Linked DNA regions of Homo sapiens: region 1 is linked to region 2. The links are contacts of gene promoters, found by promoter capture Hi-C in human tissues and cell types (Jung and others, 2019). All regions are on one chromosome and are shown on one strand. Each heading gives the region's core, a stretch centred on a gene start or on the middle of the fragment in contact. The rest is flanking DNA. Distances are from core to core; before and after follow the strand shown. Region 1 overlaps SLC5A4 (solute carrier family 5 member 4). Region 2 holds the start of RFPL2 (ret finger protein like 2).

Region 1 (3,928 bases), core at 848-3,347, 39 kb after region 2:
CTTTGGGAGGCCAAAGCGGGTGGATCACTTGAGGTCATTTGTCAATTTATGCTTTTGTTATCTGTGGTTTTGAGGTCTTATCTAAAAAAACCTTTGCCCAGACCAATGTCCTGAAGCATTTCTGAAACCATTTTTGATGCATTATAGGATTGAGCAAACAAATTTTACATATATATATGTGTGTGTGTGTGTGTGTGTGTGTGTGTATATATATCTGTATGTGTGTGTGTATATATATATCTGTGTGTGTGTGTGTGTGTGTGTATATATATGTGTGTATATATATATGTATGTATGTTGATGACTTGGAGGGCCAGGATTCTCAGTTGTGGAAGAGGGAACATATAAATATAGAATTGCAGAAGGCAATAAAATACTCTATAGAGCTGGACTGGAATTGGAGATATTAGTGTGAACTCATGATTTCTAAACTGTATATGTACGTGTATAGCTGCCTAGAAAGTATATGTATGTGTGTGTGTGAATATATCTATTTATGTGTGGGCATTTACATGTGTGTATGTATGCATTTATTTCCTAATGATGTCAGCTAAAATAGTCAAGAAAAAAAGTCCACCCAATAAGCACACTTAGCACGCAGATTTTTGTTTCTAATACCCCTCCCCACTAAAGGAGCCAGGGCTCTCCCAGAAAAATAGGTGACTCCAGGACTGGAGCAGGGCTGGTACAAGATGAGTCTGAAACATTTTGTTAGGCCAGAATTTAAGAAATTGCCCAACAAAATGATGGGATCATGCCCCATCCTTTACACAGAATCCAGTTTGAGGAACTCTCACTGGCCAAATGTGGTGTAAGTATCAAAATAACTGGCTGGGCGTGGTGGCTCATGCCTGTAATCCCAGCACTTTGGGAGGCCAAGGCGGGCAGATCACGAGATCAGGAGTTCGAGACCAGCCTGACAAGCATGGCGAAACCCTATCTCTACTAAAAATACAAAAAATTAGCCAGGTATGGTGGCGCGTGCCTGTAGTCCCAGCTACTTAGGAGGCTGAGGCAGGAGAATTGCTTGAACCTGGCAGGCAGAGGTTGCAGTGAACTGAGGTCACACCACTGCACTCCAGCCTGGGCGACAGAGTGAGACTCCGTCTCAAAAAAAAAAGTATCAAAATAACTGCATATAATAATATTGGTAAACCAATGATAAATAGGAATGTATCAGTCCATATCAGTAATAGATAAATAGAGAAGGGAAGACTCCTGCCCTCAGTAGCCTGCTGAATGCTGTCTGGGAACTGTGGAAGGAGTGCTAGGAGTTTTGGAAAATTATTATTTGGCAACCATCATAGTAAAGATTGGATCTGATAAGAACCATTTATGAATGCTAAATCTAGTGGAAAAATTTGAAGAGGAACTGGATATTTCAGTGGTTTAAAGGATCTGTCACAGACTGCTTATTGGTTACAGGGGAAAATAAAACAGTAATTCTATAGTGGAGAAACTGGGCAATACTTTGACCAGGTGATTAAAATTAACATCACCATTGAGGAACAGACGGGCATTGAATGCTTCTAGATAGGATACTTTTAGTAGGATACATCACTTATGCAGTATTCCAGCCAAGAAGAATGCATAACGTGAATCCAACCATGAAGAAATATCAGGCAAATCCAAAAGAAAAATTGTCATATTAAGAAGGGTGGAGTAGGGACTCTATCCTTCAAATTGTCAGTATCATCAAAGACAGAAAAAGGGTATGGAAATGTTCCAGATGAAAGGAGGCTAAAGACACTTGGCAAGTGAATGTAGTACCTGACCCTAGACCGCATCCTGTACTGGAGAAGAAAAGATGATTAAAAAAGGTATTACTGGGTCAATTTACAAAGTTGGAATTTAAATGGTAGATTAGTGTATCCATGTTATGTTTACTTGAGTTGATAATTCCAATTGGTTTTGCAAGAAATTATCCCTGCTCCTAGGAATAACAATATACAGGGAAGGCTCAGTTTAAAAAACCATCATTTTACACTGCCACAGTAAAGACTGGATCAGGTAAAAATCACTGGATCAGGTAGAATCATCAATGAGTGTTAAATCTGGGGGAAATTTTACATTGAAATTATTGGGGTTAAAGGGCAATGACATATGTAACAATTTCAAATAGTTAAAAACATATGAGAGACACTTTGGGAGGCCAAGCAGGGTGGATCATTTGAGGTCAGGAGTTTGAGCCCAGCCTAGCCAACATGGTGAAACCCCATCTCTACTAAAAATAGAAAAAAATTAGCCGAGCGTGTTGGTGCATGCCTGTAATCCTGGCTACTGGGGAGGCTGAGGCAGGAGAATCACTTGAACCTGGGAGGCAGAGGTTGCAGTGAGCTGAGATTGTGCCACTGCACTCCAGCCTGGAAGATAGAGTGAGACTCTGTCTCTGTTTCTGTGTTGAAGTTGGGGCTAGAAACAGGTGTAGCAGGAGACGGTTGTATTTTTCTCTAAGATTTGAAATAAAATCTGACATTTTATCATCCCATGCGATACTGATGTTGGCCAAAAACCTGTTCTTGATTTTCTGAGCCTAGATCCCAACTCGGTTGTACAAATGCAAAGTACTTTCTGTAACTCTATTGCACATTGGGGTTTCCCAGGAATACCAACTAATATTGAGGGAAGATTTCACTTTTAAAAAAATGTTCAGCATTTCAGAAAAAGAGTGTTACCTGTGGAGGTGCCACGTGTGATATCTGCCTCTGCCTGCATTTATAGCTGTCTTCACTCATACTGCTTTATCCTCATCCACAGAGGGGCGAGTATTACACCACAGCATTTTGACTTCATGTGTAGTTCTACTTAATCATTTTCATATTAAAACACACTATCTTATTATGGATTCTTTGACCTTTGTTTCTATTATATAGTACTATTAAGGAATTAAATCCATGGTTTTAAAATTGTATGTAAGTAGTTGACATATTATCAATGAATTTTTTCCTAAAGAAATAGGGACTACTCCAGGTCACTCACGCTGTGGTGCAATGGCATGATCTTAGCTCATTATAACTTAGCTCCTGGGTTCAAGTGATCCTTCTGCCTCAGCCAAAGTAGCTGGGACAATAAATGTGTGCCCCCATACCTGGCTAAATAATTTTTTTTTTGGTAGAGATAAGGGTCTCACTATTTAGCCCAGGCAGGTCTGGAACTCCTGGCCTCCAGTGATCCTCCTGCCTCAGCCTCCCAAAGTGCTGGGATTACAGGCAGAAGTCACTGGGCTCAGCCATCAATGACATTTTTCTTTTATTGTGATGAAACATATATGACATAAAATTTACCATTTTAACCATTTAAGTATATAATTCAGTGGCATTAATTACACTAACAATGACTGTAAAATATTTCTCATAATAAAGAGGAATTGCAAGGATCAGGATTTTCTTTTGCTATAAAGGACTGTATTAAAACAATAGTCAATATCTGAATAAAGACTGTAGATTAGATAATAGTTTATATCAAATCTCAATACATATGTTATTGCAGGTTGAGAACCAGTGAACAAGATGATCTTTTTCCAACCTGGGCAGAGGAGAGTTATGAAAACTGTCCTGTCCTAACGTCTCATAACGATCTGTTTAATAAGTAACTAGGAGACAATCCGTGTGTCAGAGTGTAAGAGTACACAAAAGGTCATGTCTAAGGTTAATCATTATTAATGTCACTTAAGACATAAACCTGCAGGCAAGAATGGACTCCTGCTAAGGTGTCTTTCCAGCCAGCCACAGACTCTGCACAGCCACAGACCTGCACATGGCTTCCCTGCACCCACACCTAGCTCACCAACATTCTGTCCCTCCCCATCCACCAGTGACCCTCCAGTCTGGGAGGTTGCATCCTTCGGGGGCCCCTTTTCACTGTGCATTGTCCTCTGTTCTATGCCTTCATGCCTTCTCATGCTCTTTTTTAAATAAAAATTTTATTT
Region 2 (4,086 bases), core at 777-3,276:
GGAGGACCGCTCCTCTCTTGCAGACCACCGCTGTCACTGACACCTCCACCGCCCGCCACCGGCAGTGCAGTCCCAGATGGCGCCCCTAACTCATCCGTGCCTAGTACATGCAGCACCCAATGGCGCTGGCAGCCTGCCCCCTGCCACGGGCAGCGCAGCCCGGGATAACTCCCCAAACCCGCTCTGTGCTGTGGGCAGTGCAGCCACGGATACCACCCTCAACCAGCCCCTCGCCACAGGAAATGACTCCCGGGATAGCGCCCCAAATCAGCCCCCAGCCTCGGGCAGTGACGCCTGGAGTAGGTCACCCAACCCAACTCCTGCGCGGGCAGTGCAGCACCAGATAGCGCCCCTAAAACGCCTCCCGCCACCGGCGGTGTAGCCCAGGATAGCGCCGCCAACCCGGTACTCGCCGCGGCAGTGTAGCGATAGGGCACCCAATCTGCCACCCACCGCCGGCAGTGCAACCCCAGATAGCGCACCGAACTCACTCCCTGCTGGGCAGTGCAACCCCACATAGCATCCAACCCGCCTCCCCACCCAGCCACTGGCAGTCCGCCCCCGATAATGTCCCATACACGCTCCTGGCTGTGGGCAGTGCAGCCCATGGGTAGCGCCCCCAACCAGCCCCCAGCCATGGGGAGTGATGCCTCGGATAACACACCCAACAAGTTCCCCACCATGGCACTGATGTCCCAGGTAGCGCCCCCAATCCTTGCCCCTCAGCGACCAGTGCAGCCATGGATAGCGCCCTCAACAAGCCCCTCCACTGACCCCCGCCGCTGTGGGAAATGACGCCCGGGATAACGCACCCAACCCTCCCCCGCCATGAGCAATGCAACACGCACTACTGCTCCTTACACGCCCCCCACTACATGCGGTGTAGCCAACGATGGCGCCCCCATCTCCCCCTCGCCTCGGGCAGTGTAGCTCCCGATAGTGCATCCAACCCATTCCCTCTGCCCCTCTCCTCCCACCGAGTCAACCACCGCCGGCAGTCCAACCCCAAATAGCGCACCCAATCCACTCCCTGCCAGGCAGTGAAGCCCCCCGATAGCACCCAACCCGCACCCCCACCCCCGCCACTGGCAGTCCGCCCCGATAACGCCCCAACACGCTCCTGGCTGTAGGCAGTGTAGCCCATAGATAGAGCCCCCAACCAGCCCCCAGCCAAGGGCAGTGACGCCTCGGATATCACAGCCAACAAGTTCCCTGCCATGCGCACTGATGTCCCAGATAGCGCCCCCAACCCGTACCCCAGCGCGACCAGTGCAGCCACGGATAGCGCCCCCAGCAAGCCACCCCGCGGCTGCGGGAAATGACGTCCGGTAAAGCACCCAACCTTCCCGTGCTGTAGGCAGTGCAGCACCCAATACTGCCCCTAACACGCCTCCCACCACCGGGTTGTAGCCCACGATGGCGCCCTCAATCCGCCCCCGCTCCCACCTCGGGCAGTGCAGCTCCAGATCGTGCATCCAACCTGTCCCCCTCCCCGCCCCCTGCCGCAGGCAGTGAGCCCTGGATAGCTCATCCACCCCGCCACCTTTCTACATTCTGGCTGCGGTCTAGTCTCCCTCACCGCCACCAACGGCAGCGAGCCGAGCCATGCTGCTGCAGGCTTTCAAGCCTCCAGCGTGGGACAGGTGACTCCTCCTCTAACCTGGGCATGGAGCAGATGGGCTGGCAGACGCAGAAGTGCCTGGAATGGCAAGAACCCCTCCCCCCACAGACCGAGGTTATGCAAGTAAGGTTTCTGGACTACATGTTCAGATTGGATGAGAGAAAAACCTCTAGGTCTACTCTGATTGTGCTTTATTTTCACGTTCTGACTGGATGACAGCAAGTCTTAGGATAACCAATCAGAACAAGATAACAAAGCCCGATCAGAGTAGGCCTAGAGGTTTCTCTCATCCGATCAGACTATGTAGTCGAGAAACTTCATTTGCATTAAACTCAGTATATAAAGGATGCCAAGAGGGGTGGCTTGCCCTTCCAGGCTCATCTGCGTCGGCCTGCGTAGCTGCTCTGTGCCCGGCTTAGAGGAGAAGGAGGAGGAGCCACTTGCCGCGCATGCCAGAGGCTAGAGTCATCTACCGCGCATGCTGGAGGCTGGAGCCTACAGTGGCTCACCTCGCTGCTGCGGTTGGTGGCCGCGAGGGTGACTACAGCGCAGCCAGAATGGTGAAAAGGTGGCAGAATAGGTTCGTTATCCCAGGCCGTACTGCCTGTGGCGTGGGGGGCGGGTTGGGGGCCCTATCCAGGGCGTCACTGCCCGTGTTGGGGGGCTGCTTGAGTGTGGTACCTCGGGCGTCACTGCCCGCTGAGGGGAGTGGGGTGGGGGCGCTATCCGGGGGCGCTATCCAGCCTATGGCTGGAGATGGGTTGGGGCGCTATCCGAAGCTGTAATTCCTGCGGCAGTGGGGAGTTTTGGGGGCACTATCTGGGGATGCACTGCCCGCGGCCGGGGGGCGGGGGTGAGTTAGTAGAACTATCAGGTGCTGCAATGCCCTGATGCCCTTGTTGGGGACAGGTTGTGGGGGGCTGGTGGGTGCAACACTGCTGGTGGCGAGGGTGGGTGCTGCTATCCGGTGCTACTCTGCCTGTGGGGGACGGGGGCGGGCGTGATATCCAGGGCATCATTGCCTGCATCTGGGAGCTGGTTGGGGACACTATCCATGGCTGCACTGCCCACAGTGGGGAGCGGGTTGGGGGCACTATTTGGGGCTGCAATGCTGGTGGTGGGGGACGGGTTAGGGTCACTATAGGGTGCTACACTGCTGGCAGTGGGGAGGGGGTTGTTGAGGGCGCTCTCTGGGGGCTACACTGAGACAGGTAGCGGGGGGTTGTTGGGATTGGTACCGGGGCTGGACTGCCCATGGAGAGGGGGTGGGGGCGTTGGTTGGGGGCGCTATTGAGGGCCGGGTACACTGCCTGCGGTGGAGGGGTGGGTTGGGTGCTATCAGGGGTCTGTACTGCCTAGCAGGGAGCGGGTGGGTGTGCTATCTGGGGCTGCACTGGCTGCAGCAGGGGCAGGTTGGGTGCACTATAGGGGGCTACACTGCCCTTGGCAGGGGGTGGTTTAGGTGAGCTGTCTGTGGCCGCACTGCCCGAGGTGGGGAGTAAGTTTGGGTGCTATCTGTGGCTGCACTGCCTGGAGGCAGGAAGTGGGTTGAGGGTGCTATCCTGGGCTGCTTCTCCTGGTGGGGAGCAGGTAGGGGCACTATCCAGGGTTGCACTGCCCGGGGTAGGGGGCGATTTGGGTGCCATATCGGGGCATCACTGCCCACGGCAGGGGTCTGGTTGGGGTCGCTACCCATGGCTACACTGTCTACAGCCACTGCCTACGGCAGGGAGCGGGTTGGGGGCGCTATCCCGGGCTGCGCTGCCCAAGGCAGGGGGTGGGTTGCGGGTGCCATTGGTGCTGCAGTGTCCGAGGCAGGGGCGGGTTGGGGTTGCCATCTGGTGCTACACTGCCAGCTGTGGGGGAGGGTCGGGGGCGCTATCGGGGGCTGCACCGTCCCCCTGGTGGTGGGCAGCGGAGGTGTCAGTGACAGCGGTGGTCAGAGGAGGTGAGAGGGACTCCAGTCTCTAGAGGGCCATCTCCTTCTGCTCCTGGCCAGCACACAGCATTTCTGCGGGGATCCTGAGCACGGCCCGGCCCCTAGACCTGCTGTGGTTCCCAGGCGCGCGCCCTCTCACCATGTGTTGCTGAGACCGTCTGGGACCCCTGGGCACACAGTAGCGGACATCATGGAGTGACAGGGCCCTGTGGGTGGAGGTGTCAGGAAGAGGTACCGGCACTTGGGTGGGGAGGGCTGGCTGGGGTTGAGTTTCTGCTGCTTCTGCTTCCTGAGGAGCGCAGCCAGGGGTGGGCCCAGCGATTCGTGCCGAGTGGGAAGCCCGGACGCTGTACTGTGGTGTCTCCAGTCCCCACCCCAGGCCCCAGTTCCTGGTGAACTTGGGCCAAAAAGGGAGGCTGGGCTTTGGAGGGTAGGTGTGAGTGCCTTTGCTAAAACTGGCCCCTGCCACCTAGTGGCCAGCATGACAAGGTGAGACTCTAATGCTACCACTCTCTGCATCCTGTTC

What was found. Contacts are between HindIII fragments. The study calls those that stand out against the background at their distance.
Region 1: a fragment that was not itself captured here is called in contact with the fragment with the promoter of RFPL2 in region 2 in 6 of the 25 tissues and cell types used here (dorsolateral prefrontal cortex, lymphoblastoid cells, mesenchymal stem cells and 3 more).

What each region holds. Positions count from the first base shown.
Region 1 is chr22:32,241,599-32,245,526 of GRCh38, forward strand. The region is part of intron 5 of SLC5A4 (solute carrier family 5 member 4); the gene reads right to left. All of the region lies in intron 2 of SLC5A4-AS1 (SLC5A4 antisense RNA 1), which reads left to right. Among named protein-coding and RNA genes, the nearest start is that of SLC5A4, 12 kb to the right of the region's middle. The HindIII fragment of the contact is 9,090 bases long and covers 1-3,928 here.
Region 2 is chr22:32,203,047-32,207,132 of GRCh38, forward strand. RFPL2 (ret finger protein like 2) reads right to left here and starts at 2,027. Exons shown (of 5, transcript NM_001394555.1): 1 at 1,661-2,027. It overlaps SLC5A4-AS1 (SLC5A4 antisense RNA 1), which reads left to right and starts at 2,069. Exons shown (of 4, transcript NR_149072.1): 1 at 2,069-2,201. RefSeq lists an enhancer at 3,471-4,086. The HindIII fragment of the contact is 14,140 bases long and covers 1-4,086 here.